Regions from separate parts of the Homo sapiens genome. Here all the other regions are linked to region 1. The links are contacts of gene promoters, found by promoter capture Hi-C in human tissues and cell types (Jung and others, 2019). All regions are on one chromosome and are shown on one strand. Each heading gives the region's core, a stretch centred on a gene start or on the middle of the fragment in contact. The rest is flanking DNA. Distances are from core to core; before and after follow the strand shown. Region 1 holds the start of C12orf43 (chromosome 12 open reading frame 43). Region 2 has its middle 16 kb from the start of COX6A1. Region 3 holds the start of DYNLL1 (dynein light chain LC8-type 1).

The links. The method cuts DNA at HindIII sites, captures the fragments that hold promoters and counts their contacts. A contact is called where the count stands out against the background at its distance.
Region 2: a fragment that was not itself captured here is called in contact with the fragment with the promoter of C12orf43 in region 1 in 1 of the 25 tissues and cell types used here (lymphoblastoid cells).
Region 3: a contact is called between a fragment that was not itself captured here and the fragment with the promoter of C12orf43 in region 1, in 2 of the 25 tissues and cell types used here (IMR-90 fibroblasts and dorsolateral prefrontal cortex).

What each region holds. Positions count from the first base shown.
Region 1 is chr12:121,014,794-121,018,007 of GRCh38, reverse strand. C12orf43 (chromosome 12 open reading frame 43) reads left to right here and starts at 1,521. Exons shown (of 6, transcript NM_022895.3): 1 at 1,521-1,678. The coding sequence starts at 1,534. It also overlaps a transcript of OASL not described here. RefSeq lists a silencer at 1,425-1,618 and enhancers at 1,346-1,855, 1,827-2,342. The HindIII fragment of the contact is 5,444 bases long and covers 1-3,214 here.
Region 2 is chr12:120,420,183-120,423,396 of GRCh38, reverse strand. No RefSeq gene overlaps it. Among named protein-coding and RNA genes, the nearest start is that of COX6A1, 16 kb to the left of the region's middle. The HindIII fragment of the contact is 4,053 bases long and covers 1-3,214 here.
Region 3 is chr12:120,493,772-120,496,985 of GRCh38, reverse strand. DYNLL1 (dynein light chain LC8-type 1) reads right to left here and starts at 873. Exons shown (of 3, transcript NM_003746.3): 1 at 770-873; 2 at 433-570. The coding sequence starts at 564. It overlaps NRAV (negative regulator of antiviral response), which reads left to right and starts at 1,040. Exons shown (of 2, transcript NR_038854.1): 1 at 1,040-1,163. RefSeq lists silencers at 470-989, 1,280-1,329 and an enhancer at 549-1,215. The HindIII fragment of the contact is 4,647 bases long and covers 1-3,214 here.

The sequences.
Region 1 (3,214 bases), core at 272-2,771:
CCGCAGTATTATAGATAAACCACTTGCATAAGAATATTTGCCTAACAGTGGGTGTCTCCACAATAAGCTAAAGCCAACTCCTGCAACAGGCTCCTGTGATCAACGGTACTTGTTTTAAAGAAGCTTATGTGGACTTTGTCTTTTCTCGTTGCCACAACCTCTTTTAATGTGCCTATAGTCCACTATAGCATGCATATCTCAAATTGCAATTCCTTGCAATTCTGGAATAAACGCTTTATTTTGGAGAGTCAGTCTCTCTGTTATTTATTTTATGGTGTCAATTTTAACATATGAATTTTGGAGGAACACATTCAGACCATATCAGTCACCTTCCTCTTCTTTGAAATAGAAAAAGCTCAAGGCCAGAGAGTTTATTTTAGTAAAGTTTTGACATACCTGTCTTCAAAGATAAAACATGAAACAGCATTCCACACACAAAAGTAAAGTGATTTTGTTCATCCTTCACTGTGAGGTATTTTAACCACAGAGATTCTAATTTTTTGGTCTTGGATGGGTCCTGGGAGTCAGTATTGCCTGGCTAATTTTTGTATTTTTAGTAGAGATGGGGTTTCACCATGTTGGTCAGGCTAGTCTCGAACTCCTGACCTCATGATCTGCCCGCCTCGGCCTCACAAAGTGTTGGGATTACAGATGTGAGCCACCGTGCCCGGACAGGATTCTGCATTTCTCTTTTTTTTTTTTCGAGACAGAGTCTCAGTCTGTTGCCCAGGCTGGAGTGCAGTGGCACGATCTTGGCTCACCTCAACCTCCACCTCCCAGGTTCAAGTGATTTTCCTGCCTCAGCCTCCTGAGTAGCTGGGACTACAGGTGCGTGCCACCATGCCCAGCTAATTTTTGTATTTTTAGTAGAGATGGGGTTTCACTATGTTGGCCAGGCTGGTCTCGAACTCCTGACCTTGTGATCTGCCTGCCTCAGCCCCCCAAAGTGTTGGGATTACAGGCGTGAGCCACCGTGCCCAGCCTGGATTCTGCATTTCTAACGAGCTCCCAGGTGTTACCAATGCTGCTGGCTCATGGACTACACTCTTAAGTAGTAAGGCCCTAGGCTATTAAAGGAAATACAGATTCCTGGATTCCACCTATCAGAGATTCTGATTCTGTTAGTATTTTCTGTGAGACCCAAAAGTCTGCAGTTTAACCAGCTCTCTAAGGTGTTTCTTAGGCCCAGCTGGACTGGGAAATTACTAGAATAAATGACATGGAATCAAAACCTGGGAACTAATCCTGGGTCTGTCATTAACTCCTTAGGAGATTCCCATCCCCTCTGGAGATCTGTCATCAAGAAATGATTGGAGAAGTTAATCTCTTAGGCCCTTCTAGCTCTTGCCTTTGAGAACCGCCCACCTCCCCATTCCCACCTGGTATCCCCAACCCAGTACAGTTCATGGCCAATGGCGGTCCAAGTCTTGGAACTACAATCCCCACAATGCCTCGCGCCTCTCCTCTCACGTGACGTCATGAAGGAGGCTTGATAACGGCGGTGTTCTCCACAATCCTTTGCGGTGGTTCAAGATGGCGGCGCCCAGTGGCACAGTGAGCGATTCGGAAAGTAGTAACAGCAGTAGCGATGCGGAGGAGCTGGAGCGGTGCCGCGAGGCGGCAATGCCGGCTTGGGGCTTGGAGCAACGCCCGCACGTGGCAGGGAAGCCAAGAGCCGGTAGGGTACTATGTTTGGGGAGACTGGCTGAGGGGCGTGGGATCTTCCCCTGGAGCCTGAGAGGATGGATGGTGAGGAGAGAGTCACTGGGACTCGGCTTCCTTCCCCGAGAGACCTCCAGGGACTGGGTGTAGTGCAGATTGAAAGCATGGGCAGGTGCAGTAGGGAGGGTATTTCATTATTCCAGTCGGGGAAGCTGAGGTACCCAAATGTCTTTTGATTCTGCCTCCTTGGGTCTATCCTCACTGCCCCACACTGGGAAGGCTGCCGTCTCTTCGAGATAACTGCAACAGCCCCCTCCCGGTATTCTCGCACCCAGCCTTTCCCCACCTCCAACACATTCTCCCACCCTGGAGGTTGTTGCCAAGAGCAGTGCCCAGCACATCACTCTGACCGTGACTCCCTAGTGCCCTGGGAATAAATACAGAGCCCCGCAACATCAAGGGGCCTAATCATGGATAGAACCCAAGGGTTCTTGAATTTGGAATGAAAACATGTTGCATCTTTGCTTTCTATTCATCTCTGACTGAATTTTAGCATCTCTTTCCGTCTTGCAAGCACTAAGCCACAGTAGTTCTGGCAATGCCGTTACTTTATCCCAACAGAAGTCACAGATTTTCATATCTCATTACAATCTTTGCAGATACAGATATCAATATATCATTTTATTGATAAAAAGATATTGGGGAAAAAAGTCATTTACACTCATCCCTGATTTAAAATGTGCCACTCTAATTTTTAGACCCATCTCTATATCTAAGATGTAAGAAGCACATACATCACAAGTTTGGTTGTTTACTATCATGATAATTAAATTTCGGTATCATTGGTTTTCTTTGTAATCCTGTATGTTGCATTTCATGCATTTAAAACATTGCTCTGAGAAGAGAACCGGGCTTCACCAGGCTGTTAGAGAAGGCTATGGCAAAGCAAGGTTAAGAACCGCTGGATTTGTTTAAAAGGACTTACAAGCCCTTTGGTGATCCATTGCCTTCCTCTCCCTTCCTTCCCTCCTGCCATACTGCACTTCCTGTAGGTAGCTTCCAGACCATAGTCTGCCCCTCTCACCCCCTAGTACCATAACCACAGTTTTCTCTGCAAGTTCTATTTACAGATCTGCCTTTCCATCTCATTAGCGGTGGGAACTTGAGCAAAGTACTTAAATCTCACTGTACCTAAATTTCCTCATCTGTACAGTGCGGGTAGTGATAGTACCCACCCCATAAGGTTGAGAAGTAACTGAGATAATGCAATCTACAGTGCTTGGCACATCTTAAAGGCCCAATACATGGTGGCAAATATGTGGTTGGTCTTTCCACATGGACTGCTTTCCTCCTCCTGCCTAATTCTCGCTCTTTTTTTTTTCAAAACTAGGACTCAGTCTGTTACCGAGGCTGACACAATCATGGCTCACTGCAACCTCGACCTCCCCCTACTCAGATGATCCTCCCACCTCAGCCTCCCAAGTAGCTGAGACTACAGATGTATAGTCCCAGCTACTTTTTGTATTTTTTGTAGAGATGGGGTTTTGCCATG
Region 2 (3,214 bases), core at 328-2,827, 590 kb after region 1:
AAAACGAAAAGAAGGAAGGAAAGAGAAGGGAAGGAAGGAAAGAAGAAGGAGAAGGAGAAGGGGAAGGGGAAGGGGAAGGGGAAGGGGAGGGAGGGAAGGAGGGAAGGAAGGAAGGAAGGAAGGAAGGAAGGAAGGAGGGAGGGAAGGAAGGAAGGAAGGAAGGGCGGGCCCCATGGAGGTCCTACTCTTCCGTAATGGAGGGGGGGTAGTGCTGGGGCCCTGGTGTCTGCAGTGCTAAATTGGAAACCATGGACTTCACTTTTAGGCTGTGCAACGTGAGCAAGTCATTTAGCCTCTCTAAGCCTCAGTTTTCTCATCTGCAAAATGGAGATGATAATAACCATGGCTGCGTCACAGGGCTGTAAAGAGATTACATGAGATAAAGCTTTTAGCACAGTGCCTGACCCAGAGCCAATATCCCAAAACTTCTGGATCCTATTATTATTACTATTATCATTATTACAACTATTAACACCAGGGCTGGAAGGGATCTCAGATCCTCAAATTCAGGGGCTCCCTACATAGGGTTCAGTGGATCACCCCCTCCCAAGGGATCCACAGTAGGGGTTCAGGAGGGTGGTCTGTGTGCATCTGGAAATAGAGTACAATATTGTGTCTGCTCATTTTCCTAAGGATGAGAAACTTAGCTGTCAACAAGTAAAAAATGGGGAAACTGAGTCCAGAGAGGGCGAAGGGGTCTTGCTCCAAGTTTCTCCCTTTATTCATTCATTTATTCATTCACTTTTTGTTTTTTTTTTGGTTGTTGTTGGTTTTTTTTTTTTTTTTTTTTTTTTTTGAGACAGAGTCTCGCTCTGTCTCCCAGGCTGGAGTGCAGTCGCGCGATCTCGGCTCACTGCAAGCTCCACCTCCTGGGTTCATGCCATTCTCCTGCCTCAACCTCGCGAGTAGCTGGGACTACAGGCACCCGCCACAATACCTGGCTAATTTTTTTTTGTATTTTTAGTAGAGACGGGGTTTCACCATGTTAACCAGGATGGTCTTGATCTCCTGACCTCGCGATCTGCCCACCTCAGCCTCCTAAAGTGCTAGGATTACAGGCGTGAGCCACCGTGTTGTTGTTGAGATGGAGTTTCGCTCTTGTTGCCCAGGCTGGAGTGCAATGGTGACATCTCAGCTCACTGCAACCTCTGCCTCCTGGATTCAAGCGATTGTCCTGCCTTAGCCTCCCGAGTAGCTGGGATTACAGGCATGCACCATCACGCCCTGCTAATTTTGTGTTTTTAGTAGAGACGGGGTTTCACTATCTTGGCCAGGCTGGTCTTGAACTCCTGACTTCGTGATCCACCCGCCTTGGCCTCCCAAAGTGCTGAGATTACAGGCGTGAGCCACTGTGCCTGGCCTCCTTCACTTCTTATTTCTTCAACCCAGCACCAAATCTTTCCCCAGGGCCTACATTGGCCCAGGATCACAGATGAACCAGACATGGTCAACTTCTTAGTCTCTACTCCTTACCTCCTTCCCCCGCCCCAGGGGATCTTCCTCCACAAAAGGTAGAGTTTAGTGTTTTCATTATAGTTCCTTTGTCAACACCATGCCCTGGGGCTAATTAGGCACTTCATCAAGTAACTCTAAATTCTTGCCCCAGTTGAATGCCTTACTTACCTCTACTTGGAACCTTCATTTCTCCTCTCTGAGCCTCAGTTTCCCAACCTATAGAAAGGGGGTAATAAAAGCCTTCTGCCTGGGGTTGCAAGAATTAAATAAAATAGAATTGAAAGTGCTTTATAAGCTGCAAAGTGTGGTGCCGATATTAGTATTATGGTCTGGAGAGAGAAGAAATCAAAATTGATAAATAATTGAGAACTGCACAATCTCCTCTCTCTCTCTCTCTCTCTTTTTTTTTTTTTTTCTGGACGGAGTCCCGCTCTGTTGCCCAGGCTGGAGTGCAGTGGCACGATCTTGGCTCACTGCTACCTCCGCCTCCTGGGTTCAAGCAATTCTCCTGTCTTAGCCTCTCAAGTAGCTGGGATTACAGGTGCCCGCCACCATAACCGGCTAATTTTTGTATTTTTTAGTAAAGACGGAGTTTCACCATGTTGGACAGGCTGGTCTTGAACTCCTGACTTTAGGTGATCCGCCCGCCTCAGCCTCCCAAAGTGCTGGGATTACAGGCATGAGTCACGGCTCCCAGTAGTTTATTTTTTGAGACAGAGTCTCACTGTGTTGCCCAGGCTGGAGAGCAGTGGCAGATCTTGGCTCACTGCAACCTCCGCCTCCCAGGTTCAAGCAATTCTCCTGTCTCAGCATCCCGAGTAGCTGGGATTACAGGCACCCGCCACCATGCCCGGCCAAGTTTTGTATTTTTAGTAGAGATGAGGTTTCACTATGTTGGCCAGGCTGGTCTCAAACTCCTGACCTCAGGTGATGCACCCACCTCAGCCTCCCAAAGTGCTGGGATTACAGGCAGGAACCACCGCACCTGGCTTCTTTTCTTTTTAATTAAGCTTTATTGGCCAGGCATGGTGGCTCATGCCTGTAATCCTAGCACTTTGGGAGGCCAAGGCAGGAGGATTGCTTGAGCCCGGGAGGTCAAGATCAGCCTGGGCAACATAGTGAGACCCACGTCTCTACAAAAAATACAAAAGTTAGCCAGGCATGGTGGTGCACACCTGTAGTCTCAGCTACTCGGAAGGTGGAGGCAGGAGGATCACAGGAGCTCAGGAGGTCAATGCTGAATAAGCCATGATTGCGTCACTGCACTCCAGCCTGGACAACAGAGTGAGACCCTGTCTTTTTTTTTTTTTTTTTTTTTTGAGACGGAGTCTCGCTCTGTTGCCGAGGCTTGAGTGCAGTGGCGCGATCTCGGCTCACTGCAAGCTCCGCCTTCCGGGTTCACACCATTCTCCTGCCTCAGCCTCCCGAGTAGCTGGGACTACAGGCGCCCGCCACCACGCCTGACTAATTTTGTTTTTGTATTTTTAGTAGAGATGGGGTTTCACCGTGTTAGCCAGGATGGTCTCCATCTCCTGACCTTGGGATCCGCCCACCTCAGTCTCCCAAAGTACTGGGATTACAGGCGTGAGCCACCATGCCCAGCCGAGACCCTGTCTTAATAAACAAACAAGCAAACAAAAACTTTATTTTTTGGAGCAGTTTTAGGTTCACAGCAATATTAAGCAGAAGGTACAGAGATTTCCTATATATCTCTCTCCTCTCCAGACACAGGCACAGCTTCCCCCATTATCAACGTACC
Region 3 (3,214 bases), core at 311-2,810, 520 kb after region 1:
ACCCCAGCCCCCAGCCCCGCCACCACCCACCACCTTCCCTCAACTCCCCACTGGAAGGCTGGCAAGATCTCCTCCCGGCCCGGCTGGAAACACCCACGCAGCTCCCCCCTCCGGAACACCCAGATGGATCCTCGGCGCAGGAACCACACAGAAGGGGGAACCGCTGCTCCCTGATCTTAGATACCGTTGCTAGGTGGCGCTTTCCCCCCGCGGAGCTGGGTAATTAAAAAAAAAAAAAAAAAAACTTCGGACGCCGGGGGTCTGGTCTTCTCCACAGGAGCGCAAAATGCATCTGCGTCCTTTCTGGAAGCTTCTACGCCCCAAGCCGCCAGCAGTATTCCCGGGACCTGTCAGGCGCCCTTAGGAAAGCAGGATCGGGGGGAAGGAACCCCCTGCTCCCGGCTGCGTATCGGCCCCCGCGCCCATCCTCACCTTCTTGATATGAGCCGCAATGTCCTTCTCTATGTTGTATTTCTCCAGCGCCTGAGTAGCGCACTCCACCGAGTCCTGTTGCATCTCTTCCGACATGTCCGCATTTTTGATCACGGCCTTTCGGTCGCACATGGTTACCTAGTGGGCAAGGCCTGGGGTAAGGGGTTGAGTTGGGCCGCGCCCCCCAGGCACTAACTGCCCCCACCCCGGCCGGCGCCACCACGGGACGACGCCCCCCACCCCACTTCTCAGGAAGCGCGGGCTACGCGGAGGGCTAAGTCCGGAGTGGGGCGAAATAAGGCAGCGAGGACACCCCCTGGCCCCCCGAGTTTCTCACCGTGGAGAAGGGGGCTGGCCGACTGCAACGGTCTCCTGGGGGAGGTGCTAGCACAGCTCAGGCCCGGCTAGAGATACCGTCGCTACCGAAACCGTGGCGCATCTAAGCAGCCCCACGCCAGCCGCCGCCGCCTAGTGCTCAGGCCCCGCCCTGCTCCCGCCGGCCCCGCCCCTCGCCGCGCGACCCTATTGGCTTGACGCAGCCCACGGCATTCTTCCATTGGTCCATTGACTCCATGGTTCCCTCAGGATCTTTCTCCTGCATTTTGTTGCAGACCACAATGCACCGCTCACGGCGTCGGTTGCCCGGGCAATGGGCCGCACGCTACGAGGCCCACACACCCAGAAGGTGGAGCCCCGGCCGGGTTACGAGGACCACCCAGCTGTCTGGAGAGGTAGGAAGGGAGCTTCTGCCGGGGCCAAGGGAAGTGATTCCAAATTCACGGAGGTTGTCCCAGGGTGTGTTCTCGAACAACAGTCTCTAGAAGTTGGTGGCCATTCCTGCCCCCACCCCCCCGCCCCCCCACCACGACAGGTCGCATGATCTCGCACCCCAGGTTAGCAGGATTACGACAGAGGTGGCCTCTCCCTTTACTGAAAGGGTATCTCTGAAGCAGGGCCGGCTTCGTGGGTAAACCAGCAGTGCAGTCTCACAGGAGGGACCCTTACGTTTTCATTTTGCACTGGGCCCCATTTGTAGTCGGTTCTGCTCTGAAATATTTAGGGGAGGGCATCCTCAGGATTGAGGGAGGGCTTCAAGGAGGGAGGGTGTTTCCTTACGAATTAAGGGATTATCCCCAAGAGTGGGGTCTCTGCCAAGCAATGCGGACATCCTTTAAGGGGTTGGGGATGGGGATCCGGGTGGATTTGGGAGTGTTGAGCCCCGGGGTTTTTGTCCAGGGTGAAGCTTCTTGCTCAGGTGAGGCAGTCTTTCCTGTGTGGGAGAGATTCTTGGTTGGGATTTATCTCTGAGGAGGAGGTATTCTAATGGACGAAAAAGCGGCCGTTAGAGAGATGACGTCCCCTCTGGCTTAGGGAGGAGACACGAAGTGGTTAAAAAAGCAAGATCTTGGGGGAGTTGAGGGACAAGTCAGATCTGGATTTAAATCCCAGCACTGTCATTTACTAGCTATTTGAATGTCTTCTTTAAGTAAAGGAGGACTAAATGTAAAAGGAAACCAGTTCATACGCTTGTTAGCAGTATTAAACATTTGAAGTTCTCTCAGCACAATGTGAGGCACATAGTAAATGATCAATGAATCTTATCAATAATTGTCAGTTTATACAACTATCCCAAAGGCCACAGCAAGGTTTTGAACAACCAGCTCTGAAATGCCTATAATGTATTTTTCGAACCTCCATAAATAAGTTATCAGGTTAATCATGTATCTGGAAGCTTCCTATTTACATTTCTACATTTTCCTCTGACCATCTACTCTCATTACTCCTTAAAACAATTTGTGGCTGGGCATGATGGCTCACACCTGTAATCCCAGCACTTTGAGAAGCCGAGTCAAGGGGATCGCTTGAGCTCAGTAGTTGGAGACCAGCCTGGGCAATATGGCCAAACCCCATCTCAAAAAATAAAAATAAAACAATTTGAGCAGAGGCACACAACTCCAGAAAGAAAAAGATGGGAATAGGCCGGGTGCGGTGGCTCATGCCTATAATCCCAGCACTTTGGGAGGCCGAGGCGGGTGGATGACCTGAGGTAAGGAGTTTGAGACCAGCCTGATCAACATGGAGAAACCCCATCTCTACTAAAAATACAAAATTAGCTGGGCATGGTGGCACGTGCCTGTAATCCCACCTACTCAGGAGGCTGAGGCAGGAGAATCACTTGAACCCGGGACACAGAGTCTGTAGTGAGCCGAGATCGCGCCATTGCACTCCAGCCTGGGCAACTCCGTCTCAAAAAAAAAAAAAAGGAAAAAAATGGCAATAATTAGAACCTTTTCAGGTTCAACATATGCATATCAATTAAATCAACAGCTTTTTCCAGTTCCATGTTTCTAATGATGAGATTCAGGGTTTGAGGAGTTATAATATTACTATAGTACCTCTCTTGAGGAAGAAATAGGTTGACAACAAGTGAGGACCCTGGAAATGCAAATGACACTAAAGTAAAGCCACGGTGACTCCACTAAGTAGAAACCCCAGGGAAATTTCCTAAATCATCCTCATGATTTTTTTCCATATCTACACTACACTACCCCTGTTATTATTTATTTAATTTTTACTATAATAATACTATCATCATAATATAGTAATGTAATTGTTCATTAATAATACCTTATATGGCCGGGTGTGGTGGCTCACGCCTGTAATCCCAGCACTTTGGGAGGCCGAGGCAGGCGGATCACGAGGTCAGGAGATCAAGACCATCCTGGCTAACATGGTGAAACCCCATCTTTACTAAAAATACAAAAAAAAAAAAAATTAGCCG